Linked DNA regions of Homo sapiens: all the other regions are linked to region 1. The links are contacts of gene promoters, found by promoter capture Hi-C in blood cells and fetal thymus (Javierre and others, 2016). All regions are on one chromosome and are shown on one strand. Each heading gives the region's core, a stretch centred on a gene start or on the middle of the fragment in contact. The rest is flanking DNA. Distances are from core to core; before and after follow the strand shown. Region 1 holds the start of CABP7 (calcium binding protein 7). Region 2 holds the start of SEC14L3 (SEC14 like lipid binding 3). Region 3 holds the start of CASTOR1 (cytosolic arginine sensor for mTORC1 subunit 1). Region 4 holds the start of SEC14L4 (SEC14 like lipid binding 4).

Region 1 (6,500 bases), core at 2,676-5,175:
GTGGAGTTTCATCAGGGCCCAAGTCCCCAGCAGACTCCAAGGGACATCCGCACTCCATCAGGCAGCCAGAGTCCAGAGGGCAGGCACTGGCTGGAGGTCACTGAAGAGGGTAGTGTCCATCCTCCGCAGTGGCTGCTACTCTCCGTGGCACTGGCCCCGTGCCCCACCACTCTGGCCTCCCTGAGCTTTTGGCTGTGCAGAGGCGGCTCCTGGCCTTGCAGGGCAGAGAGGTAGGAAAGGGGACTCCCCAGCCTCCCCTGCCCTAAAGGCCCCCATTTGGCCACTCTCAATGAAGGCTCCACTCACAGACTGGGCAGGCCAAGTGTCAGCCCCAGAGCCCTACCCTGGGGACTGTCTGCCTGGAGGTCTGACTCCTTCCTCCTCTCTTCGGCCAGAAAGGGCTAAGACTTGCAGCCACCCCATTCCCACCCTTGGGTGCTCGAGTCAGCTGATGGTGCTGGGACCAGCCTCAGTGTTCCTGGAGGACTCTGCTGTGTGTGTATGTTGGAAAAGGTGTATGTCCCAGCCATGGTGGGCACACAGAGGGGATCTAAGAGAGTCCGTGCCTGTCCCTCACAGGGCCTGGGTGGGCCTCAGGCCAGCTCTGTGCAGCCACATTCCTACCCTGCCAACTGCCCTCCATGCCTCCCCAGGGCCACAGGTCCCCAGAGACCTTTTCCAGACCTTCAAGGCCTTTTCCACCCAGCTCTCCCTGCCAGCCTGCCCTTCTGGCTCAGCCTCCTGCACACCCTCACGGGCCTGGGCCCTGCACGCTCCAGCCTCTTACCCCCGCAGGGCCTCCCCTCATGTTGCATCTGGGTCCCTGAGCCCCCTGTGCTAGGTAGGTACTTTCACTGCATCCTCCATCACCAGCCCCCCTTTTATAGGTGGGGAAACCAAGGCTCAGAGAGGTGAGCGATTGCCCAAGGTCACTCCATGAGCTGAAGGTGCAGAGACTCAAACCCAGCGCCGCCTGGCTGGGAAGCCCTCATCTTAACTCTGTGCTTCCCACCTCCCTGCCTGGTCCTCCTTTCCGCTCAGACTGACCGCCCCCTGGATTTCTGCGGCAGGCACGTACTGTCTGCAGCATTCCATCCCGGGCTGCCCAGCTCCCTCTTCCTGGCACATGTGGCTCCTCCGCGAATGGCGTCCTCCCGGCAGAGGGCCTGGGTCTCGCCCAGACCGCCCTGGGGCAGGAGCACTCATGAGGCCCTGCAGAGGCGGAGAGGGCAGAGGGGGATCCGTGCCAGGAATGGCCAGCCCTGGCATTCAAGGACTGCTGAAAGGGACCTGGGGCCGCCAGAGGGCTTTTAGGGCACCTGCAGCCAAGAAGGGGGCTGGTCATGGAAAACTTCTTGCCTTCATCTGTAGCTGCCCACTGGGCCAGAGATGAGCTGGGACCACCCAGGCATCTGTCTACTCCATGACCCCACCTGCCCATCCCAGGGAGGGCCCTGCCCTTCAGATGCCCCCTGAGTCAGGGCCCCTCAGCTCCCCAGGGCCCAGGAGAAGGGGACAGGAGAGAAGCGGGGAGGGCACTTGTTGTGGCTGGTGACTAACGCAGCTGGGCTCCTGCCAGCACGCCATGTCGTTGGTTGGGGAGCCTGCGGCCTTGCCCCTGCACTGCCCACCCTGCGGCCCCTCGCCCCTGCAGCCAGCCTCTCAGCCTCTCCCCTTCCTCAGGGAGTGCACTCCAGGACTGGGGATCAGGAGAGGAGGGACCCAGAAAGGGCTGGAGTTGGGGTGGTGGGGTCCTGGTGGGGGTGCTGGGAGCAAGGGGAGGGAGTGAAGCGGAAGCTGCCTGGGGTCTGGGAGACATGGTGACTCCTGCTTGGATGGTCAGGAGGAGGGGATGGATGAGGGCCTCTGGAGGGAAAAATCTGCAGGAGGTTTGAGGTGGCCCAGGGCCGGAGGGGACAAAGGTGGGGAGGAGAAGGCCTATGCTCCATCTCCTGACCTTTCGCCCCCCACCATCGTACCCCTCCTTTCCCCGGGCTCTGGAGGAGGCTCTGGCCCTGGGTTTTAGGGGTGAATGGTGAGGTCATGTCGGGGGGCCCCAATCATCCATCTGTCCTGTCCGCATCAGACCCCAGACCCTGTCTCCACAGCTCTCCCCGCTTCTGAGGGTTTGCAGGGGCAGTTGGTGAGGAGCCTGGTGGCTCATGCCTATGGTGCAGTGAGCGAGGCAGAGGCTGCCTTCTCTCTCTGGATCTTCCCCCGACCCATTCTGACTCCTCTAAGATCTGCCCTCACCCTGGGCCTGGGTTGAGGGAGGACCTCCCTCCATGGCTTCCCCTGGGCTCCCACCATCCTCCCTGACTGTGCTGGTCTTGGCTGCACCCTCCCAGGCCCTAATGAGCCTCCAGATCTCAGAGACCCCTGGATCCAAGGTACCCCGAGAGGCCCATCCTCTGGGTGAGCTCAGCCCCTTGCAACAGCAGACATGCAGATCCCAGGAGGCCGTGACCCCCATCAGCCCAGATCCCCCACTCCACTCCATATGGGGGCTCCAGGAGGTCTGGGGGGAGGGGAAACCTCAGCACCTCCCCCAGCCCAGCAGGGAAGGAGCTGGGCGGGCCCCAGGGGTCTCACTGCTCCTCAGGACACACTGTCCCGGACCCCTGCCCCTGCCCTCTGCTCTGACCTCGCCCAGCCAGCGGCCTGCCATCCCCCTGCGAGTCTGAGAGGCAGGGGGAACGGGGTGGGGGCGGGTTTGGGTCCTGGCCTCTCTGCCTTTCCCTTCCAGGCTTGGCTATCGCGACTTAGCCGCCCAGTCCGGCCACTTGTTGTCGCCACCGCCTCCCGGGCCGCCTTCCCGGCGCGCCGGGCTGGGGGTCCCCGCAGGGCTGCAGGGAAGGGGCTACGGCCGCAGGTGGGGACGGGGGCGGCCCCGCAGCGGGCAAGAGCAGGGCAGTCGCCCTCTCCCCTTCTGCTGCTGCCCGAGCAGATTGAATTTTTAAAGCGACACGAGCGGAATGTCAATGCGAGCAGAGAGCCGCGGGCGGGCGCCGCGGAGGGGATCAGGATGCGGGTGCTCCGGCCGGGCCGGCGCTGGGGGCTCAGCGCGGACCCCCGCCCCAGTCCGCCGCGTTGCCGCACCGTCACCGCCGACTGCGCGGCCCCGTGACCCCGCTGCGGGGCCCGGCAAGTTTCCGCAGCGCTGGGGACCACGCGGGCAGGGGCTGGGCCGCTCTCCGCCTGAGCGACCCCCACCGCGGCGCCCCGGGGTGCGGACAGGTCTTGCCGCGGGGCACAGCTGCTAGCTGGGGCGCCCACCTGGCAACCGGCACCTGCGGACCGCCCCCCGCCCCCCGCCCCCGCGCCCCTGGCCCGCGCTTCACCTGGGCGCACAGGTAGGAGGGCCGCCGGGGCGGGGATCCCGGCGGACACTCACCCTCCAGCTCGTCCTCCGGGATGTCCACCGGGCGCTGCTCCGACAGCAGGTTGGGCACGGTGTAGATGCCCCGGTACATCAACGCCGCCGTCACCGGGTGGAACGGCATCTTGGAGGCTCCGCGCCCGCCCGCCCGCCGCAAACTTTGAGGCCGGGGCTCATGGGCCGGTGGCGGCCCCGGGGGCGGCTGGAGCGGGCGGGGCGCGCGGCTGCGGAGGGCGGCGGCGGCAGCGGCGAGGCTGGGGACGCCCCTCCGGGGGCCTAGCGCCCCCGCGCCCCGGGCCGCCGGGCCATGCCGCCCGCTCCCTCGTCGGGCTCCCAGCCGGGGCCCCGCAGGGGCAGCGGGGGCGGCGCCGCTCTGGCCTTTCCGAGAGCTCCGGCTGCCTCGCGCGGTGCCCGCCGCGCCCGCTCCTCGGTGCCCCGCGCGCTCCGCGCTGCTCGCCGCCCGCTAGTCCGCTCGCCGGCGCGGCCGCTACCGGCCCGGCGCTCAGGCTGTAGCCGCCTCTCCGCTCGCTCGCTCGCTCGTTCTGTGCCGCGCTGGCTGCGCTCCCCGCCTCCCCCGCCAGCCGCCCGCCCGCCCCCTCCGCGCTCCCCACCCCCAGCCCGCCCCTTCCCGCCGCCGGCCCCTGAGCGGCCGCCCCAAACCTGCCCGGGGCTCCTTCTCCCCTTCGGCCCCGATTCCCCTTTCCCACTAGGGCTCCCCTCTGTTCACTGGCTCTCCTCACCCTAAGTCTGCAGCCACCAGGACCAGGGAGGGGGTGGGTTGCGGGGGTCCTCCTTCCTGCCCCTTGGCTCACCTTCCCCCATCCACGCACCAGGAGCGGAGAGCCCGGAACTAAGAACTGTAGACCCAGAGAGGTGAGACTGGCCCCAAGCACCTGGGTCCTCAAGAAGAGTCACCGTTTCCGTGCCAGGAGGATCCAAGGTGGGGAAACTGAGGCTGAGAGAGAAGGACGTTGACCAAGGTCACAGGGCAGGAGCAGCAGGTAAGAGCTGGGTACACGTCTGGGGTAGGCTTCCTGCCCTGCCTGTGACTGACACCCTGCCGCTGACCTTGCTCCCCACAATGGGGCCCCAGTCCCGGACCCTTCCCAAGCCCCTACCTTTCAGCTTGCAGAAGAGGAGCCAAAGTGTCTCATGGCCCCCAGGGCAGTTCGGGACAGAGACATGGCCCGGTGCCTGTGGGGTCTGGTGTGAGGGCCTGCCAGTTCACATGGCTGCAGCTCAGACCTAATGTATGTGCAGGGCTTCCCCAGGCCCCAGGGCACGTCGGCACCCCAGAGCTGGGGTGGGGGCAGGTGTTTGAGGGAGCAGCCTGCGTGTGCATATGTCTGCTATCCATGAGGGTGTGTATGTGCCACTGGGCACGTGCGCAGGTGTCTGTGACTCCATATGCAGATGGACAAATGTCGGGAGTGTGTGGCCACCTGTGTGTGCCAAGGTTGTACGCTGGCAGGTCGGGGGAGGTGTGCAGGCCCTGGGGCTGGGAGTGGTGTGGGCATATGGTGCACAGATGTGCATGGGAGGGGGTGACCTTCTGGCCTGGCTGTGGCCCCATCTCTGGGTGCTTCCCTGAATCCCCCTACTGGGACCACCTCCCTGCCCCCTTTGGCCCAATCAGCTAAAGGTCCCAGCAGGAACGCTGATTGCACAGCCCTGCCCGGTCCTGCCCTGCCCTTCCCAAGCTGATTACACTTTTCTGCTTGTTTCTGTTTTTGTTACTGATTAATCGCAGCCTTGTCTCAGGGTCTGGGGAGAAGGGGCTCAGTGAGAGATGCTAGCCCCAGCCAAGCGGGGTTGGGTCAGCCTGGGCCCAGCACTTCCTGGGCCCTGCTCTGGAGGGAGCTCCTAGAAACATCTATAACCTGCGGAGGAGCCAGGAAGGACACCAGCTGTCTGTCTGTCTCCCCAGACCTCTCCGGGCTAGCTGGTTGCCCACTGGGACCTGGGCCTGGAGGTGAGAGAGGCCCCAGAAAAGCTCCCACCCCACTCCAAAGCTCTCCTTGCCCACCTGTCCCATCTTCTGACCTTCCACCGCTAGAGCTGAATGCCTTGAGCTTCCCCAGTGTTTTTGATGGAGCAGAGACTTGAGGAAGTAAGAACCCAGCACCAAGAGCCAGGCAGACTGGGGCTTCTGCATCCACCATCTCCTCACCATGGAACTACAGTCAGGTCCCTTAACCGGCCATAGCCTCAGTTTCCCTGCCTGTTAAGGTGGCAGTGCCACATCCCAGGCAGCGGTGAGGATGAAGTGACATAATGTAGGAAAGGTGCCGGGCATCACCTCCCTGAAACTCTTGGGAGTTTCCTATTAGCATGAACATCCCCCCCAAGGAATAGGAATTAATAATAATTATAGCTTCGAGTATTGATTGAGAGAGCGAGCCGCAGCAGCAGCTCAGTCGTTCCACGTTTACTAAGTGTCCAGGCTGTGCCAGCCCAGGCCTGTCAGTTCTAAATCAGAACCCCTGGGCCAAGGGAGAGTGGGCTAGAGCCTGCTGAGAGGCTGGCAGGAAACCCAGCTCCCAGTGACTCCCTGGGAGGCCGCTGCAGAGCGTGTTGGTACTCGCCCTGTGAAGGGGAAGCTCCTGGGCTTGCTGTCCAGGTGGGTATTTTTTTTTATTTTTTTAGGTGGAGTCTTTCTCTGTTGCCCAGGCTGGATTGCAGTGGCATGATCTCGGCTCACTGCAACCTCCGCCTCCCAGGTTCAAGTTATTCTCATGCCTCAGCCTCCCGAATAGCTGGGACTACAGGCACATGCCATCACACCCAGCTAATTTTTGTATTTTTCGTAGAGAACATGTTGGCCAGGCTGGTCACAAACTCCTGACCTCAAGTGATCTACCCGCCTTGGCCTACTAAAGTGCTGGGATTACAGGCGTGAGGCACCACTCCCAACCCATGGTGGCTTTTTTTTTTTCAAGTCAAGGGAATTCCAGGGGTCAAGAGGAGGGTGGGCAAAAGCTCAGAAGTGTGAGAGGGCCTCTCTTAGCTCTGAAGGGCAGGTCTGGGTCTGGGTTCTCCAGATCTCCTACGCTTGGCACAGGACTGGAATGGGCTAAGGTGGCTGGGGCTGGATGAACATCTGTCAAATGAATGAACGAGA
Region 2 (6,539 bases), core at 3,371-5,870, 750 kb before region 1:
CTGACCACACAGAGAGCGCATTTCCATCCTTCGCACAGCACCGTTCTAGAGAATGCAACTGGCTTCACAAGTCACAGCCTCAGCTGTGCAGGGATGACCCTTTCCCTGGGCAAGGGGAGGGGAGATGGGGAAGGGCTGATGAGGTTCCAGCTGGGGCCTGTTATCTGGGACCCTGCTTCTCCAGAGAGGAGAGGCCTGGTTGGGCTGGTGGTCCCGGTTACTTGGGCTGGTGGGTGTGACTCCCTCTAAGCCCTTCAGGAAGAAATTTACAACAAAGAGTTCAGTCTTCAGCGGATCCTTCTGGGGAGGGGCCCAGGTTTCTGAAAAACGACTTGGAAATATATGCTAAGATGTTGTCTTTAGTTTCCATAGAGGAACCAAACATCTGACTAACTTCCTTGGCTATTGTTTTAGGCTACTATTACCTGAGCCTGGCTCAGCCTGGGTGGACGGTGCCTCCTCCTGACCCCACTGGCTGGGGTAACAGGAATGACCCTCCCTTGCTGCACCCACTGGCTATTAGCTGCCATCACCACCCCAACCCAGGGTCCCCACTGGAGGGGTTCTCTTCTACCCCGGGTGACCTTTTCCGCAGGCGGTGTTGGAGTGAGCACCTCTCTGTAGCTGTCTCTCACACTCTTGTCTGTTACTGATTTTTTTTTTAATAAAAAGGTAAGAAAACTTGATACCTTCTATTTTTAAAAACAATGAATTTGTGATGTATGAATTATATCACACTTAAGTTTTTTTTATTTATTAAAGGAGATGAAACTGCCCAAAGAAAGATAGAAAGTGGACTGTCCCAGGTGCCACTGAGAGCGCCACTGGGGTCTGGAGACGTGTGCCCCAATCCCTTTCCATCTCCCTGCAACCCTTTTATTTTTTTAAAGGATAAGCTTTCACTCTGTTGCCCAGGCTGGAGTGCAGTGGCCCTATCAAAGCTCATTGCAGCCTCAAACTCCTGGGCCCAAGCGATCCTGCCTCTGCCTCCCAAGTAACTGGGACTACAGGTGTACGCCATCATGCCCAGCTAATTTTTAAATTTTTTGAAGAGACAGGGTCTCACCATGTTGCCAGGCTGATCTCAAACTCCTGGCCTCCAGCAATCTTCTCACATCAGCCTCCCAAAGCACTGGGATTATAGGTGTGAGCCTCGGCACCTGGCTTCCATCTCCCCTTTTCAGGCCACCCACTTCACATCTGTGTGGTCTAAATGCCCCCTACTCACCTCCTCCCAGTGATGCCTGCCCTATGTCGAGGCTCCTGTACCCCCGGGAAGGGCCCCTTTAGACCTACCCAACTGCTTCTGGCAAGATCCATCCTGGGAGGGAGGGTGATCAGGAATGTGCCAGGGATGGACTGAAAGGGGTGGCTGTTTCAGATTTCCTAGTAACCGGCTGACAGGAGAGGTTGGGGCGCAAGCAGCTCTATCTACCCACCTGCGGTTGTTTGTTTAAGTTGTGGTTGTTGCCATGGTCCCCTGAGAGCTTGGTAAATGAGGAGCCAAACACACATGGGACCTTACCTGTAGACAGTGTGCTCTGGGGTTTAGGGGGCAGGCTGGGGGTCTCTCCTTCCCCAAGGCCTTTGTTTCAAGGCAGGCAAAATTAACCCTTCTGGCCCCAAGACACCCTGCAGCCTGAATCCAGCTTGAATCCAGGCAGATCCAGGCTTCTACACAATGACGATTTAAAGCATTTATTGAGCACTTACTATATTCTGGACACAATATTAAGCCCTACAGGGGAAAGCAGGGTGGGCTGTGCAATCCAGAGTCAGATAGGTTTGGGTTCAAGTTCTGGCTCCTCATTTACTGGCTGTGTGACCTCAGAAAAGTTTCTTGATCTCTCTGAACTTCTATTTGTTTAGCTGTAAAATGGGAATACCCATACCTGCTTCTGAATGATTTGATAATGATATAAAGCTCCCAGCACAGAGGGTATGCTCACCAATGGGAGACTGTGAGCTCTATGCAAGCTGGGTCCTAATCTGTCTTGTTTGCTGTAATCTACCCCCTCCACATGCTTCTCACTTTCCCACCTCCATGCCTTTGCCCATGCCATCCCCTCCACTTGGGATGCCCTTTATTCTGCTCTCCATAAATCAAAATCCTTCCTTTCTTCAAGGCCTGGCTCAGATGCCAACTGCATCACATATAGGTGACTTTCATGCTTAGGCTCTCTCCCTAACTAAGGTGGAAGCTCCTAGAGCCAAGACTATGGGATAGCATAACAGCACAATGGCAGAGTGGTTAATTGCATGGGTTTACCCCTGGATAAGTTACTTCTCCATACCTCAGTTTGCTTATCTGCATAATGGGCGTAATAGTACCTACCCAACACCACAGGTATGTTCTGAGGTTTAAATGAGGTAATGCACTGCTTTTTTCTTTTTTGAGATGGAGTCTCACTCTGTCCCCCAAGCTGGAGTGCAGTGGCATGATCTCGGCTCACTGCAACCTCCGCCTCCCAGGTTCGGGCCATTCTCCTGCCTCAGCCTCCTGAGTAACTGGGATTACAGGCATCCGCCATCACGCCCGGCTAATTTTTGTATTTTTAGCAGACACGGTTTTGCCATGTTGGCTAGGCTGGTCTGGAACTCCTGACCTCAGGTGATCCACCTGCCTCGGCCTCCCAAAGTGCTGGGTTTACACGTGTGAGCCACCTCACCAGGCCAAAATGAGGTAATGCATGTAATGAGACCCCATCTCTACAAAAAATATAAGAAATTAGCAGGGCGTGGTGGAATGTGCCTGCAGTCCAGGCTACTCCGGGGGGTTGAGGTGGGGAGGATTGATTGAGCCTGGGGAGGTCGAGGCTGTAGTGAGCCGAGATCATGCCACTGCACTCCAGCCTGGGCAACAGAGTGAGACCCTGTCTCAAAAATAAAATAAAATAAAGTAGAATAAAATAAAAATGGGCCACCTGCACCATCCAATATGGTAACCACTAGCCAGATTGAACAATTTAAAGTAAAATGTATCAAAATCCAATTCAATTAAAACTTCAGTTCCTCAGTCACGCTAACCATCTTTCACATGTAACTAGTGGCTACCAGATATGTCTAACAGGACACCCCAGACAGAAGATGTCTACCATCACAGGAAGTTCTGTGGAGTGGCACTGTAGCTGATGAGGATTTGTGAACATAGCAAGGTACTTGACAAATCTGTGGTCTGGGTCAGGAAAAGAGCTCAGTGTGAAGGCTCACAACTCCTGAGGAGACCCCCAACCCTCCCTCCTGGCTCTCCTTCACAGTCTCCGATGCCCCTAGAAGTAACTAGCACACCTCACATTATAGGGATTAGGGTGAGAAAGGAGACTGGTGAGAAATGGGCAGGATTAGTGGCTCGGGAAAGGGCAGTGGAGGAACCCAATCTCTGTACATTACTGGCCTGGCAGGAAGTGGGTGTAGACAGCAGCTGGGGCTTTGCAGAAATTGAGGCTGGAATGTGAAATGGGGCAGGGCTGGGGTGTGGAGAGTTACCTAACTGTTCCTGAGTACATGCCACGGGCTCCCCAGGCAGAGGGAAATGGCCAGCATTAGCCCTGCCTTCTCCTTCTGGATCCAACTCTGTGAGGAGCCCAGAGCAAGGAAGATGTCCCTGAGAAGATGTCTGATACTGACCAACATCTACTAGCCTAAAGAGACCCTGGGTTAGCCCAGAATAGAGGCCCACTGTAGCTCAGGGGTGGGTACCCAGGATGCCCCAGGAGTAGGGGACCTAGAAAAGCCCTAGGCAGAATGGTGTGGGCTAGCCCAGCTGCTGGGGCCGAGGCTAGCCCGGGGTTGGTTTCAGCCCATGCAGACCCCCTCAAGGCTGAGATGTGGCCATGTGGCCATGTGGCCATGCTGCAGCCTCAAGCTGATGGTTTCTTCAGAGAGAGTCATGGATAACAGGGTCTCTCCCTTCCTGGAGCTGAAGCTTACAGCTCCAGGGGGGACCAGGAGAGCTGAAGGAGAGTATCCCTCAGATGCACACAACCCTTGACAGTCCCTATGTCTCATTAGATCTTCCCTCTAACCACATAAGGAGGGGAAGGCAAACATTAACGGCCCCATTTTATAAATGAAGCAAGTGACGTTCAAAAGATGCCATCTGTCCTCTTCTTGACTGTGGACACAAAAGAAGGACCTGGGCCTCCCACCCCCAACAAAGTGAATGAACTGTTTACTACACTGACCAAGCCTCAGAATCCTACCCTTTCAGAGCTGGGTAGAGGGGGGTGATCTTTGCAGAATCCTAAGTGTGGGAAGACTGGGGCTCAGGGAGAAAGGGTACCCACAAGGAGCGGTCCTCATTCTCCTGAAACTCCCCCTTCTCCAGGGCAGTGGTCACTGGAGGCCTGGGAGGGTCAGCGGGTTCTACAGGCACTCACTCTGGGCTCCAAGGTCACGGGAGGCCAGCCTCCCTTCCTCCCAGCTGCCTCCTCCTGGCAGGGGACCTCTGGCACACGCTCCATGCCCGCCTGCCCCTCCAGATCTGTCCCCAAGCCAAGCAGGGGACCTCACTTAATCCCAATTATGTAATCTGCAATTTAAACAGTTGGCCCATGAGGAGGCGCTTGGAGCCACGCCCAGGAGTGGGGGCAAAAGGACCCAGCTGGGTCAGGGCTGACAAACTAGGCTTGGCCTCTTGCCTATAGTGGCCACCACTCCTCAAGCCCCAGCCAGCACCATGAGCGGCCGAGTTGGAGACCTGAGCCCCAAACAGGCAGAGACCCTGGCCAAGGTGAGAGCCCCTCCCCCTGGAGTTCCGGAAGACCAGGGGAAAGGGGCTGGGGGGTGGAAAGAAGTGGCTGGAATCCTGCCCCACTCAGTTGATTCAGCATGTCCTTGACATTGTCTCTTTGGTGTTACCTCCCAAAGGGTCAAGCCCCACGGTGCCCAGTAACATCAACCCTGTCCCGGGCGGGGGTTGAGGGACTAGCACCACTTCCAGGCAATAACGTGGGTGGTGCCCACCCAAGTCAAGCCTGACTTCTTCTCATCCAGGAGCCAGAACCAGAGAGGTTTACCTGGCAGCCAGGTACCCCCGTTCCTCCCTCCCAGGCACCATAGGTAGGAGCTGAAAGATGCTGCTGGTCTGCCCTTTAACCCCTTCCTCTTTGGGATCCTGAAAGATGACCAGTCTGTAAAAGCCCAAGAGACAGAGCAGAAAGTGTTGTCTTTCAAAGAGCTAAAGGAAGAAGAGGACATATAATTATTAACCATGTTTTAATAGAAGATGGGATGAAAAAAAGCAGATGTTTTGAGGGCTAACACATGGAGGGAACTAAGAATGCATCCAAACTCCAATCCACTTATTCATCCACCCAATTATTTATCCTTTCTTCTTCTTTTTCTTCTTTTTTTTGAGATGGAGTCTCTGTCATCCAGGCTGGAGTGCTGTGGAGCGATCTCAGCTCACTGCAGCCTCTGTCTCCCAGGTTCAAGCAATTCTCCTGCCTCAGCCTCCTGAGTAGCTGGGATTACAGGCATGTGCCACCACACCTGGCTAATTTTTGTATTTTTAGTAGAGATGAGTTTTCACCATGTTGGCCAGGCTGGTCTCAAACTCCTGACCTCAGGTGATCCACCAACCTCAGCCTCCTAAAGTGCTGGGATGACAGGCGTGAGCCACCATACCTGGCTGTTTATCCTTTCTTTCATCCACCCATCCCTCTTCCTACCCACGCAGCCACCTATCCATCTTTCTTTCTCTCAATCACCCACCCATCTCTCCTCTGTCCATTCACTGATTTATCCACCCACCCACTCTCCATCCATCCATCTATCCATTCATCCATTGATTTCTTCTCCCTTTTTCCATCTACCTACCCACTCACCCATCTATTCTTCTTTCTAACCATTTATTCATCCATCTATCCTCCTTCCATTCATCCACCTATCCAGTGATCCATCTGCCCTTCTATTCAACCATTAACCCATCCTTTCATCAATGTGGGCCATTTTGCATGTGGGAGGAAAGGAGAGGTTGTGAAAACAGTCTTTGAGTCTGGAGGCCAAGGCTCAATGTGAGAGAGCCACTTTAACCAGCATCTCTCTTGCCAGTTCCGAGAAAACGTCCAGGATGTGCTTCCTGCCCTGCCCAACCCTGATGATTATTTCCTTCTACGCTGGCTCCGAGGTGAGGGCAGAGGTGGGAGAGGTTGGGATCAGGGGGCATCAAGAGGGGCCTGGTCTCAACTGCTCCAGAGTGTCTCATGGCTCTCAGGGTCCATCCACACAATCTTGCTTCACATGTTCAGGTCCAGAGGAGGGAAGGGGGTAGGGGAGCAAGGTCTCACCCAGGCCCCCAGTGTCCTCCATAGCTCCCACTGGCCAGGAGTAAGACAAGGCATCTTTCCTGTCTCACACCTTCCTTCTGTTTTCCCACAGCTCGGAATTTTGACTTGCAGAAGTCGGAGGCTTTGCTCCGCAAGGTGAGACCTATCCACTCTGGAAATTTATGGAGGGGATTTGTCAGGGGCAATCCATGCCTCAAGCCCCTCCTTCCATCCCTGTTCTCAGGGCACTGGGAGCCCAGTGGGATCTTA
Region 3 (6,902 bases), core at 2,649-5,148, 570 kb before region 1:
CCCCGTCTTCCTCCCTGGTACCCCATTCGCAGCCTTGGCTCTTATTTCTCTTTGTTCTTTCTTTATGGATACTTGTCTCTCAGGGGCAATTAGGTGGAACATGCGTGACCAGCTTTTACACATGAGGAAATGGAGGCTCACAGAGGCAGAATCACTAAGCAACTCCCCTTAAAGTCACCCACCCAGGTGGAGCTGGAATTTGAGCCTAAGCAGCCAGGCTGCCCTGGGCAGCGGTGGGTGACAGGTTGGCAGAGAGCAGGTTTTTGTCTGTCTGGGTCTTACCCCTTTAGCCCCATAGTCAGGCAGGTGGACTCGTGAAGCTGTGGGCAGCTTTATCCTCTGAGGCGGTGGGTCTCAAGTGTCCAGCTCACCTGGCACTCAGCTGTGGGGCTCGTGACTGCAGCTTGGGACTAGACCCTCATCCTTCCTGGGGTCAGTGTTTAGTGGCCAAGGCTGGGGGATGCTGAGGAAGACTGGGGGCCCAGGCTGGGAGGCAGAAGGGGAAGGTCCTTCTTCTTGGTGTCCACTTGCCTGTGTCACTGCCCCTGCAGGTGGTGGAGTTGCCCGTGACAGAGCGCCAGATTGAGCGCGAACACCTCATTCAGCTGCGGCGCTGGCAGGAGACCCGGGGTGAGCTGCAGTGCCGCTCCCCGCCCAGGCTGCATGGTGCCAAGGCTATCTTGGATGCAGAACCTGGTCCCCGGCCTGCCCTACAACCTTCACCATCCATCCGCCTGCCCCTAGATGCCCCCCTCCCTGGCTCCAAAGCCAAGCCCAAGCCACCCAAGCAGGCCCAGAAGGAGCAGCGGAAACAGATGAAGGGGAGAGGGCAGCTGGAGAAGCCCCCAGCCCCAAATCAAGCCATGGTGGTGGCCGCTGCAGGAGATGCATGTCCCCCACAGCATGTGCCCCCGAAGGACTCAGCCCCCAAGGACTCAGCCCCTCAGGATTTGGCTCCCCAGGTCTCAGCCCACCACCGCTCCCAGGAGAGCTTGACGTCCCAAGAGAGTGAGGACACCTACTTGTAACCCTGGCAGCTAAGGCCTCCAGGGCGGGGTCTCCATATAACTACACGGTTCATGAACTGACATTCCACATCCTGCCCACCCTCTGAGGGCCAAGCTGCCTGGCCACTGGGCTGGGCTGGAGTCTGGCTGGTCCAACACAGATTCTGCCTGGTCCAACACAGATTCTGCCTGAGCCTCCTTATTTATTTTCTTTACAGTGGCACTCAGGCTGGCCCAGCCAGGGCAGGCAGAAGCTAGGGCCTGGGGGGTGGGGCCTCCTTCAGCCCCCTCCTCCTGGGGGATGCTCCCCAGGGTTAGGGTGCTGGTGTGAGGGGAAAGGGTGGGGTGTTCTTTGTGTAAAATAGAAACATGGTTTTGTACAGAAATAAACAGCCTTGTATAGAGAGCTCGTGTACAGCTAGGGGCTGGGAAGGGGGTACCACCTTGGTCACCTTGGTGCTCAGCATCTCTTCTCTTTGCCCTACAGAGCCCCTTCTCCTGGGCCCCAGCCCAGCACCAGAGCCTCTCTGAGAGGTACCTTTGCCAGAGGACATGCCAAGTCCCTGGTCAGCCCCCATTCTTAACCCCCATTTTCACTCACCCCATCCCCACTGCCTTATGTCTACCTTCTGCCACAGATGAGGGACACCAGGGCTGGAGCTCAGTGCTGGGCAGAGCAGGGCGTGCTCCCTAGGCCTTGGTCCTCACCCACCCACCAAGGGGGCAGGGACTCCTAAGGAGGAGGTTTCAGGGTCTTCCTCCTTCAAGTCCTGGCCTGGATGCTACCTCAGGCTCCAGTAAGTTTCTGAGAGCTGATTCTGGGTTGGGGTCAGGGACGGGGCCCGGAGTGGAGCACCACGAATGTCCTCACAGGCTCAGCCCAGGCCCTCAGGGAGGGGGGCGAATTGTGGTTCTTTGATAAAATGCCGCCTTCGATTTACTGCCAAGTGCCAGGCTGGACTGGTCAAGTAGGCTCCATTAGCCCCATTTAACAGACGAGGAAACAGGAGCTGAATGGGAAAGCCTCAGCCGGATTTGCACCAAGAGCCCCTCACTCAGCTTCCTCTCCTGACCAGGGCTCCAGGAGACCTGACTCTGCCCTTGAGGGCCCAGGCAGGCACTGCGGTCACAACCTGATGACTGGTGAGGGCAAGGACAGGGTGTCCCTGGGAGAGGCCCCCCTTCTGCTGAGGAAGCAGCTTTTCCAGTCAAACAATAGCGCTATTCCTGGCAGATGACCAAGCTGGGCCAGGCCAGGCCATAGCGGGAGGGGGCAGGAGAGGGAGGAGCAGAGCCTCCCTGGGAGCTTTCAGCCTTCGCCTGGGCCTGGAACATCCTGTCCTGGTACAGCTGGGGATACTGAGGCCTAGGGAGGTGAAGGGTTTCAAGAGACTATCAGGGTAGGCCACTCCACTTCCTGCCTCCTTCCCCTCAGCCCCATGGTTTCCCACTCTGTCTGCACCTGCCATTGATGAGATGGGCTCAGCCTTTGAGAAGCTCCTCCTTCCCCTAGTCCTCCAGGGGATAGGCCAGGATGTGGTGGCTACATAGTGTTTCACAGGAATGTGTCAAGCCCGAGAGTCCAGGGAGGAGGCTTAGCTTGGCTTCCATCTGCCTATGGTGGGGGCTCCAGAGCAGGCAGAGGGCCTGCTTAGGCCTGCTGGGTCCCAATCAGGCCTGAGGCCTGCTTTAGTCTACTTGGTTCAAAGCCTCACATCTGAGGCCTCAGGGTGCTCAGGCCAGGCAAGGGTCCCCTGGAGCATTCTCAGCCCTGCATGGAGCCAACATGGACATGCTGATGCCTGCTTAGCCTTGGGGGGGTCTTAGACCTGTGAAGGCCTGATAAGATCTGGGGTGTCTGCCAGTGCCGGGGGCCTCCTTGAACCTGAAGCAAGTTTAGATGTGCACAGGCTAGCTAAGGGCTGCAGGCTTTGGGGCTCAAGTTTCAGGCTTGAGGTCTGAGTACTCACTGAACCTCAGCTGCAAGGGCCTCCCCCACCAAAGTCTGAGCACTGGGCATTACTGGCTCAAGCACTTCCGGGTTTTGTTGGTATCGAGGGACCTCAAGCCTTAGGCCTTGGCCACCTGCAGCCCCCTAACCCAAAGTATGTCGCTCAGGCAGAGGTGGCTAGGATTCTACCTCTGTGTGCCCCTGGTGAGGAGCCTTCTATTTTGAAAGTTGGATGAAAGGAACAAGTGGGGCTACCAGGCCAGGTTTCAATTTGTCAGCCCCCTCGCAAGCGGGGAAGGGTAGGTATCAATCGCAATCCTGTGTTGGCGGCCCTGCCCCCTGCAGCCATGAGAGGCAGGAGAGCGAAAGGCGCCCGGGGGACAGCGCTGCACAGCAGACCTGTGCCTCTCATTGCTCCGGGGATTTGGGGGCAGCGTTCTGGTCCTAGCCGAGCTCCAGTTTGTTTCGTGTCCCTTCTGTCTCAAGGACTTCAATCATGAAACCCACGTGTGTGCCAGAAGGACAGAAACGTCCCCTCCGGGATGCTCCCACCGGCTGCGCAGCTGGCTTTCCGCGGAAAGGGCGGAGCCCAGGGAGGGGGCGCGTCAGGGGCGGGGCCTGGAGGAGTCAGACGGGGTGGGGTCTATCCCCGAGCCAGTACTAAAAAAGGCGGAGCCGTTCGGGGCGGTCTCGGTGGGCTGGCTGGAAAGCGGGATGAGGTTCTGGCGTTAGGAGGAGGCGTGACCACCCAATAGGCTTCTCTTCCCGCGGGGCGTGGCCGTCAAGGAGCCGGACGCCGCGCCTGGCTGGGCGGGTCAGCCTCGCAGCGGGCGGCGTGGACGCGGCAGCGCAGCGGCTCCTTTAAGGCTCGGGCACCACCCCCGCCGCCCCGCCTCCCGTGCGGCCTGGGTCTAGTTGGCGGCGGGGTCGGGTCCGCGCGAGCCGCGATGGAGCTGCACATCCTAGAACACCGGGTGCGGGTGCTGAGCGTCGCCCGTCCCGGTCTCTGGCTCTACACCCACCCGCTCATCAAGCTGCTCTTCCTGCCCCGCCGCAGCCGGTGCGCGCCCGGGTTCGGGAGCGCAGATAGGGGCTGGGGGCTCTGCTCTCGCTCCGGGCCAGGGTCGGAGGATTAGGATCGCCGTAAGGCAGGCAGGCAGGCGGGCGGGAGCGGGTGGGGAGGACTCTCCCCGTCCGGCCGCCATCCGGCCTGGGGGACCGCCGCCTATCCGGCCCCGTGAGGCCCCCTCCCAGGGGCAAAGCGCAAACAGCCTGGGATGGGCAATGCTTAACTCAGTAGTGTCAAATGGGGGCATTCCTACCTGGTCACTGCGGGGAGCTCCTTCCAGGACGCCTCCCTTCATGTCAGAGGGGCTGGACTAGGGGGTCCAAGGTCCGACGCCCCTGGGGCTGTCGCCGCGGGTGTGAACCTCTCCTCCCTCCAGGAGTGGAGGGGTGGAGGGTTCCTGGAGAGGTCGGGAGGCCGGAAAGTAGCCCCCAACCCCCGAGATGGGGCTAACATCCCATTGGCCTGGAAATTAAAGGCCGAGAGGGCAAGAAGGCGCCCGGCCCAGGGTCGCGGGGGTGTCTCGGGGCAGATGGAGAGAAATCCACTCCCGACCCCTAGTTCTCCACACCAAGCTGAAGATGCTCCCCACCCCCAACCAGGTGCAAGTTCTTCAGCCTGACGGAGACCCCTGAGGATTACACGCTTATGGTGGACGAGGAGGGCTTTAAAGGTGGGGGTTGGTCTGGGGAACGGGAGTACGGGAGGGGCTTGTCGTGCTCCCCTTCTGTAGGGTTCTCACCAGTTGCTGGGATCCGTCCCAAGAGCTTAAGCCTTAAAAGCAGATGGGTCGGGGTTCGAATCCTACTCCACCACTCCCTGGCTGTGTGCCCTTGAGCAAATCACTTTCCCTCTCTGAGCTGTTTTCTCTTATGTAAAATGGGTATAGTTATGGTTCTGATACATAGGGTCCCATGAGGCCTTTATAAACTTAAAACCGCTGAGGGGCACTCAGCAGTCTTAGGCCTGCAGAAGGGCCTCTGTTATGATTCCAGTCAAGTGCTGCTGTTAGAAATCCCTGGGTATTATTTCCTCCTGGTCTTACTCTCTGGTTTGGGTCACCTCCTCCCCTGCTGGTCTGGAAACTCCAGGAGTCTGAGGGAAGGAATGCAGGAGCAGGCAGCCATCTCAGGGGAGGGTCCTGGAGGCCTCCTGGCTGTGCTGGGGTGAATAGCAGCCACCCAGGCCCTGGCCCCAGCTCAGGACTGGACGCCAGCCTGGGCCCTCCCTGGGGCCTGGAGCTGACGCCTAGCTCCTCCTCCTGCTGCTGGCCCTGCCCATCCTCACAGGCTTGGAGTCTCAGGCCAGCTAGCTGGAGCTTAGCCTGTCCCCATGCTCCACTGCAGGCCTTAGTTTCCCTGTTTTTACTTCAGAAGTCTGGGTCTGCAAAAGGGGAAGGCAATCCCCCAGCCAACCTGATCTGCGAATGCCCCCTGGTGGTGCCATGTGGTACAAAGCTTCTGCTAACCCACAGAAGACACCGTAGTGAGGTAGATATTGTCGTCCCATTTTACAGATGAGGAAACTGAGACTCAAATCACCCACCCCAGGTCATAAGACAAATTAACAAAGCTGGGATTTGAACCCAGGTCTGTCTGAATCTGGACCTCTGATCTTAAGTGGGAAGTTTCAATGCCACCAGGCCAGCACTTGAAGCCTTTCTCAGTCTTTGCACACATAGGGACTTCAGGAGCCCCAGCCTCCAGACCTGCCCTTACCTTGATGGAGCCCTCCAAGGCACAGAAAGGGAAACTGAGGCTCAGAGAGGGGCAGGGGCCAGCCTTGTAGACCCTGACCTGACATGTCCCCTGCCCACAGAGCTGCCCCCATCTGAGTTCCTGCAAGTAGCTGAGGCCACATGGCTGGTGCTGAACGTGTCGTCTCACAGCGGTGCGGCAGTGCAGGCTGCTGGGGTCACCAAGATCGCCCGTTCGGTCATCGCGCCACTGGCCGAGCACCACGTGTCTGTGCTGATGCTGTCCACTTACCAGACGGACTTCATCCTGGTGAGTTTCCTGCTGGTGCTGATGCAGAGCAGGGTGGATATAGGTACCTGGGAGCCCATGTGATGTGCCATCTGCTGTGGCCCAGGTGCGGGAGCAGGACCTGTCCGTGGTGATCCACACGCTGGCCCAGGAGTTCGACATTTACCGCGAGGTGGGCGGAGAGCCTGTGCCTGTGACGAGGGATGATTCCAGCAATGGCTTTCCCCGCACTCAGCATGGTGAGGGCCGCCCCCTGACACTTGGACTTGGGCAGGGCCTCCTCTTCCCACTGGGTCCCTTCCCTTTTGGGCCCCAGTGGGGCAGGAGGACCCCGGCCAGTTCCTGGATAGCAAGACCTGCCCCTGGCCCACGCCTCTCCCTGACTAGCCACCAGGGGGCGCCCCAGCCCACGGACACCTTTTCACCTGCTGCTGTCCTCCAGCAGGGCCCAGCCCCACGGTGCATCCCATCCAGAGCCCACAGAACCGCTTCTGTGTCCTCACACTGGACCCTGAGACGCTTCCAGCCATCGCCACCACCCTCATAGATGTCCTCTTCTACTCGCACAGGTGGACCTTGGAACTTCGTCTTTGTCCTCACAGCACTGTTCCCTACACTCTGTCCCACCACTTTCCGCCCATCTATCAGTTTTGCACCTCTTGCTTGTCCTCTCTTGGGGTTCCTGGCAGCCCATGATGCTCACTTGTGCTTCACTGATGTTCGGGGAAGGTTCTTGCCCCAAAGCTGGATCCCTTTCCAGTGGGGTCGTCTGAGCCATGCCCTGGTCTGGCCCTCTCACCGTGGAATCCTTTGTTTTTGGCACAGGCTGGGTTCATTGTCCTCCCCCATCCCCACCCACACCTTCCAGAGGGCTGGACCCTTGGGCGGGTAGC
Region 4 (6,601 bases), core at 1,967-4,466, 790 kb before region 1:
GTCTTGCTCTGTCTCCCAGGCTAGAATGTGATGGCGCAATCTCAGATCACCGGAACCTCCGCCTCCCGGGTTCAGTGATTCTCCTACCTCAGCCTCCCGAGTAGCTGGGATTACAGACGTGCACCACCATGCCCAGGTAATCTTTGTAGTTTTAGTAGAGACAGGGTTTCGCCGTGTTGGCCAGGCTGGTCTCAAACTCCTGACCTCAGGTGATCCACCCGCCTTAGCCTCCCAAAGTGCTGGGATTACAGACGTGAGCCACCACGCCCAGCCCCAGTGGCTACATTTTTTTTTTTTTTAAGTAAAAAGGATAGGTAGGAGCACAGAGGATTTTTAGGGCAGTGAAACTATTCTGCGTGATACCACAATGGTGGACACATGTCATTATACATTTGTCAAAACCCATAGAATATCCAACACCAAGAATGAGCCCTAATGTAAACTAGGAACTTTGGGTGATATTAGCGTGTCAGTGTAGGCTCATCAATTTCAGCAAATGGATATCTCTGGAACCAGAGGTTGTGTGTGTATGGGGACAGCAGATATGTGGGAACTCTGTACTTTCTGCCCAGTTTTGATGTGAACTTAAAACTGTCCTAAAAAATAACAATTTAGCTGGGCACTGTGGCTCATGCCTATAATCCCAGGACTTTGGGAGGCTGAGGCGGGAGGATCGCTTGAGCTCGGGAGTTTGAGACCAGCCTAGGCAGCATGGCAAAACCATGTTTTGTATTTTTCTTCAAAAAAATACAAAAATTAGCCGGATGTGGAGATGCACATCTGCAGTCCCTGCTACTGGGGAGGCTGAGGTGGGAGCACTGCTTGAGCTTCAGGGGTGGGGGGCGGTGGAGCTTGCAGTGAGCGGAGATTTTGCCACTGCACTCCAGCCTGGGTGACACATTGAGACCCTGTCTTAAAAAAAGAAAAAAAATTATCATTATAAATAATTCAAAATTATTAAAACATCAAAAGAAACAGGTGAAAGTAATATTAATAACATATTTTATTGTCCTATTATATTCAAAAATATCACTTAATATATAATCATTTATATAAAATTAATTAATGAGGCTAGGAGCAGTGGCACACGCTTGTAATACCAGCAATTTGGGAGGCTGAAGCAGATGGATGGCTTGAGCTCAGGAGTTTGAGACCAGCCTGGCTAACATAGCAAAACCCTGTGTCTATAAAAAAATAAAAATAAAAATAAAAATAAATTAGCCGGGTGTGGTGGGGTGAGAATGTAGTCCCAGCTACTCAGGAGGCTGAGGTGGGAGGATCACTTGAGCCCGTGAGGTCAAGGCTGCAGTGAGCCATGATTGCACCACTGCACTCCAACCTGGGTGACAGAGTGAGATGCTGTCTCAGTACATAAATAAATAAAATTAGTTAATGAAACATTTTACTTTTTCTGGTACTAAGCCATCAAAACTTGGTTTGTATTTTACAATTACAGCATGTCTCTATGCTTGTTATGACAAGCCACGTTGTCTGGGCTCAAAAGCCTCTGTGGCTCACGGCCACTGGGTTAGTCCTTTCGGGACTAGAGCTTGGTTTGATTCCATGGGAGGACAGAGGGAACAGGGTCTTGTGGCCTGTTTTACTCTCTCCTTCATCTTCACGTCCCCTCTACTCCTCTCTTGAAAATTCACACCCAGCCAACTTCTGTTTTCTTTTTTTGAGACAGAATCTGGCTCTGTCGCCCAGGCTGGAATGCAGTGGTGCCATCTTGGCTCATTGCACCCTCAACCTCCCAGGTTCAAGCAATTCTTGTGCCTCAGCCTCCTGAGTAGCTGGAACTACAGGCGTGGACGACCACACCCAGCTAATTTTTGTATTTTTAGTAGAGACAGGGTTTCACCATGTTGGCCAGGATGGTCTCAAACTCCTGACCTCAAGTGATCCGCCTGCCTTGGCCTCCCAAAGTGCCAGGTGCCAGGATTGCAAGCATGAGCCACCGCGCCTGGCTGAACTTTTTTCTTGCTTTTCCTAGTGATCTCCGCCTGGCTCTCTTGTGTCAGCCAGAGTGGCCTTTTGGCTCTCCGCCCACTCTGTCACTCTGCCCAGGGCTTCCATTGGTCCACGGCTGGCACCTTGCATGCCTCCACCTTCAGACTGTGGCTCTCACCCAGGAGCTCCGCACTTGGGACACCCTAGGATCTCCACCCCTGCAGCTCCCAGCTCTGGTGACAGCCTCAGTAATAACACAATTCTGAAATATATTCCTACCAGCCAGCACTTACTGAGCAGGCAACGCCAGACATTCTGCTGACCCAGGGTGCGTCCTCTTATCCTTCCAACCATCTTGAGGGCAGGAACCATTTTGCACATGAGGCTGTCCTATCAGTCAGTGAGCACTGACAGGTCCCAGGCTGTGTTCAAGGTCAGGGGAAGGAGCTTGGGGGTCATTAGACAAAAGCCCTGGGGGTCCTAGAGGGTTGAGCCAGGTTTATTAAAAATTCCTCCATGTTGGCCAGGTATGGTGGTTCACATCCCTAATCCCAGCACTTTGGGTGGCGGAGGTTGGAGGATTGCTTGAGGCCAGGAGGTCCAGACCAGCCTGGTCAGCATAGCAAAACCCGGTCTCTATTTTATTCAAAATAAGAAAAAGAAAAAAAAAATTTTTTTTTTTTTTGAGACGGAGTCTCACTCTGTCACCCAGGCTGGAGTGCAGTGGCGCGATCTCGGCTCACTGCAAGCTCCGCTTCCCGGGTTCACGCCATTCTCCTGCCTCAGCCTCCCGAGTAGCTGGGACTACAGGCGCCCGCCACCACGCCCAGCTAATTTTTTGTATTTTCAGTAGAGACGGGTTTTCACCATGTTAGCCAGGATGGTCTCGATCTCCTCCTGACCTCGTGATCCGCCCGCCTCGGCCTCCCAAAGTGCTGGGATTACAGGCGTGAGCCACCGCGCCTGGCCCAAAAAAAAAAAAACATTTAAAAAAAAATTTCCTCCATTTTGCTGGAAAGAGGATCTCAGTGTATTCCCTTTCCTGCCACCTGCGAACAGGCGGGAGCCCCCGCAGTAAGGAGGCCTGGAGGTGGCTGCCTCCAGCTGCCCCAGGCCACTCTCCCGGCAGGTCACCTCCCTGTCCCAAGTAGGGTGCGCTTGGTGACCGCAGCAAAAAATCCTGGAGAGGAGGAGAGAACTGGGCGGGGCGGGGCAGGCCCAGTGCCTCTCCCGTCGGGGCGGGACCAACATCTGGCCCAGGAGGCACAACCAGGCGGCAGCGGATACAAGGCCAGGCGGCGGCGGGCGGGCGGACCTGCGCCCTGAGCCTTTCTGCGCCCGCGGGCACCATGAGCAGCCGAGTCGGGGACCTGAGCCCCCAGCAGCAGGAAGCGCTGGCCAGGGTGAGGAGCATCGCGGGCTGGGAGGCTTGAGGAGGGGCCCTGAGCAGCCTGGCACTGCCCAACCCGGCTGGAGCCCCCATGGTACAGACTGGAACACCGAGCCTGGAGAGAGCGCCTCTGTTCTGCCCTCTGGTCCAGCGTGCGGTTGTTGAGGCGGCTACGTGCAGCACGCGGGACAGGGGCCCATCTCTGCGTGACCAGGAGCCGAATCCAGTCTTCTGACCTTGCGTGCTCTCCACCACCCGGCCCTGGTCCTTGTTCCCCGGTTGTGGGGGAGGGAGTGGCGCTGCCATCCGGCTGCGGGGGCAGCCTTGGGTAGACAGACTGCTTTTCATGTCCAGGTTGCAACATTTGTTTGTTTGGCTTCTCTTTGTGATTTGTTCTTAGGGCCCAAGCTTCTCTGTAATCTTTTTTTTTTTTTTTTTTGAGATGGAGTCTTGCTCTGTCGTCCAGGCTGGAGTGTAATGGCGCAATCTCGGTTCACTGCAACCTCCACCTCCTGAGTTCAAGCGATTCTCCTGCCTCAGCCTCCCAAGTAGCTGGGGCTACAGGTGCCCGCCACCACACCCGACTAATTTTTGTATTTTTAGTAGAGACGGGGTTTCACCATATTGGCCAGGCAGGTCTCTTGGACAGGCTGGTCTCGAACTCCTGACCTTGTGATCCATCCGCCTTGGCCTCCCAAAGTGCTGGGATTACAGGTGTGAGCCACTGCGCCCGGCCTCATATTTCTAATCCCAAATTTGGATTCACAGATTCACCTTCAAACCCAGCCTTTGCCTTCAGCTCTGTTGGTCCCCAGGGAAGTGAGATCTCCTCTCTCTCAGACGCAACAGATGCCCTGATAAGGCATTCCTGGCTTCTCTTTCAGCCCCTGTCTGTTGACCTCTGCCTCTGTTTTTTTTCCACAAAGCCTCCATTGTCCGGGGCATCAGGCAGTCCACGCTGGCTGAGTGCTCACATATATCTGACACCTGCTCGGAGCCAAGCCTGCTAAGTGTTTTACGTGCACAGACTCCTTTGATTGGTACAAGTTTATTTTTATCCCCATTTCAGAGATAAGGAAACTGAGGCTTAGAGAGGTTTGGTAACTTGCCTCTAAATCTAAACCCTCAAGATGCAGTATCAGGGACAACATTCCTAAAACCGCCTAGCTGGCCTGCATCAGACTCTCCCAGGGATCCTTGTAGAAATAAGGCTGTCAGTCGGGCATGGTGGCTCACGCCTGTGATCCCAGCACTTTGGGATACTAAGGCGGGTGGATTGTTTGAGCCAAGGAGTTTGAGACCAGCCTGGGCAACATAGCAAGATCCCATCTCTACAAAAAGTACAAAAATTAGCTGGGCATCTTGTGTGCCTGTGGTCCCAGCTACTTGGGAGTCTGAGCTGGGAGGATCTATTGAACCCGGGAGGCACGGGTTGCAGTGAGCCAAGATCACGCAACTACGCTCCAGCTTGGGCGATAGAGTGAGATCCTGTTTCAATAATAATAATAATAATAATAATAATATAAAAATAATAATAAAATAAAAATTAAAAATAAGGATGCCAGGGCCCCACCTTAGACATGTAGAATGGGAGTCCAGTGTGTAGGGCACTCCCAAATTTTGGGAAGGACCCAACTCTTTTTCCTATGTTGGGCTGGAGGGTGCCCTATTTTCAGATGGCAAAGTCGTTCAGGGCAGCACCCTGCATGGTCTTCTGGTGGAGTTGACTGGTGGATGATGTGGGAAGGGTTAGGGGCGGGGTTGGTGGCCCCCGAGGTCATGAGAGCTCCGCCGACCATCAGATCCTCCTCCGCTCAGTTCCGGGAGAACCTCCAGGACCTGCTGCCCATACTGCCCAATGCTGATGACTACTTCCTCCTGCGCTGGCTGCGAGGTGAGGCTTGCAGGGGTCAGGGGACGCAGAAAGGGAGGGAAGGAAGGAGGGTCTCAGGAGAGGAGTGGGAGACTTTGAGGGAATGGAGCTGTAGGGTAGTAAAGAACACAGGCTTGCCGGGCCCGGTGGCTCACACCTGTAATCCCAGCACTTTGGGAGGCCGAGGCAGGCAGATCACCTGAGGTCGGGAGTTCGAGACCAGCCTGACCAACATGGGGAAACCCTGTCTCTACTAAAAATACAAAATTAGCTGGCTTGGTGGCACATGCCTGTAATCTCAGCTACTCAGGAGGCTGAGGCAGGAGAATCGCTTGAACCCGGGAGGCAGAGGTTGCGGTAAGCCGAGATCCCGCCATTGCACTCCAGCCTGGGCATCAAGAGTGAAGCTCCGTCTCAAAAAAAAAAAAACAAAAAAACAAAAAACACAGGGTCTGGAATCAGCCTGCTCTGACTAGAATCTGAGCTCCCCTGTGTATGAGCACAGCACAAAACCCCACTGAGCCTCAGTTTCTTCATCTGTCAAGCAAGGATGAGGCAACAGGTGGGCACAGAGTCCAGGTGAGGTTACAGTTAACAGCCAGGACATCCTCAGGCCTCTGGCCTGGCCAGCCCTTGGGGCAGATGTTGCAGAGCACTGTTTTCAGTACTTGCCTTTGGGTGTACCTCCAGTTCCCCGAGGACAGGGCTCTGTTGTCCCCTAAAGGAACCGAGGTGCCCTAGTGCACTGAGCAGGTGCCCAGCAAACACTTAAGGAAGTGGATTTAGCGAATGCTAGAGAAGCAGTTTCTTCTAGGAATTACAGCAGCAGTCTAAAAAAATAATAACAAGCCAGATGCGATGGCTCACACTTATAGTCCCAGTGCTTTGGGAGGCTGAGGCAGGCAGATTTCTTGAGCTCAGGAGTTCAAGACCAGCCTGGGCAACATGGCGAAACCTCATCTCTACAAAAAATACAAAAATTAGCCGGGTGAGCTGCCGAGCACCTGTAATCCCAGCTACTCAGGAGGCTGAGGTGAGAGGATCACTTGAGCCTGGGAGGTGGAGGATGCAGTGAGCTGAGATTGTACCACTGCACTCCAGCCTAGGCGACAGAGTGAAACCCCATCTCAAAATAATAATAACAGACACTGCCCCAGAGCTTAGGGAAAAATTCATCTTAACTCATTACACCTCATGGAATGGATTTTGAACTTGAGATGAGTGAGAAGTCAGGAGTCAGCCCGGAAAGCATACATACAGTGCAGGGTTTAAAACGCTGGCTTTGGAATTGGGCAGAGCTGTGACTGAGTTCCAGTGCTAGCATGTGCCTGTGGCAAGCCAGTCATTGTCCCAACCTCACTTTCCTCTTCTGTGTAATGGGCATAATA

Evidence for each region. The method cuts DNA at HindIII sites, captures the fragments that hold promoters and counts their contacts. A CHiCAGO score of 5 or more calls a contact.
Region 2: a contact is called between the fragment with the promoter of SEC14L3 here and the fragment with the promoter of CABP7 in region 1, in 2 of 17 cell types (activated CD4 T cells and M0 macrophages). The highest score is 7.0, in activated CD4 T cells.
Region 3: the fragment with the promoter of CASTOR1 here is called in contact with the fragment with the promoter of CABP7 in region 1 in 4 of 17 cell types (erythroblasts, M0 macrophages, M1 macrophages and 1 more); the score reaches 6.7 in erythroblasts.
Region 4: the fragment with the promoter of SEC14L4 here is called in contact with the fragment with the promoter of CABP7 in region 1 in 1 of 17 cell types (activated CD4 T cells); the score reaches 7.0 in activated CD4 T cells.

Annotation. Positions count from the first base shown.
Region 1 is chr22:29,717,428-29,723,927 of GRCh38, reverse strand. It overlaps CABP7 (calcium binding protein 7), which reads right to left and starts at 3,925. Exons shown (of 5, transcript NM_182527.3): 1 at 3,395-3,925. The coding sequence starts at 3,503. It overlaps CABP7-DT (CABP7 divergent transcript), which reads left to right and starts at 4,025. Exons shown (of 3, transcript NR_186695.1): 1 at 4,025-4,380. RefSeq lists an enhancer at 1,826-2,616. The HindIII fragment of the contact is 23,163 bases long and covers 1-6,500 here.
Region 2 is chr22:30,470,098-30,476,636 of GRCh38, reverse strand. SEC14L3 (SEC14 like lipid binding 3) reads left to right here and starts at 4,620. Exons shown (of 12, transcript NM_174975.5): 1 at 4,620-4,732; 2 at 6,055-6,130; 3 at 6,382-6,425. The coding sequence starts at 4,679. The HindIII fragment of the contact is 8,474 bases long and covers 3,928-6,539 here.
Region 3 is chr22:30,286,501-30,293,402 of GRCh38, reverse strand. CASTOR1 (cytosolic arginine sensor for mTORC1 subunit 1) reads left to right here and starts at 3,898. Exons shown (of 9, transcript NM_001037666.3): 1 at 3,898-4,018; 2 at 4,627-4,697; 3 at 5,843-6,030; 4 at 6,116-6,248; 5 at 6,455-6,578. The coding sequence starts at 3,906. It overlaps TBC1D10A (TBC1 domain family member 10A), which reads left to right. Exons shown (of 9, transcript NM_031937.3): 9 at 552-1,413. The coding sequence ends at 1,028. RefSeq lists an enhancer at 2,581-2,640 and silencers at 3,521-3,960, 4,161-4,240. The HindIII fragment of the contact is 5,917 bases long and covers 1-5,483 here.
Region 4 is chr22:30,502,310-30,508,910 of GRCh38, reverse strand. SEC14L4 (SEC14 like lipid binding 4) reads left to right here and starts at 3,216. Exons shown (of 12, transcript NM_174977.4): 1 at 3,216-3,353; 2 at 5,159-5,234. The coding sequence starts at 3,300. RefSeq lists a silencer at 3,155-3,449. The HindIII fragment of the contact is 5,471 bases long and covers 1-3,750 here.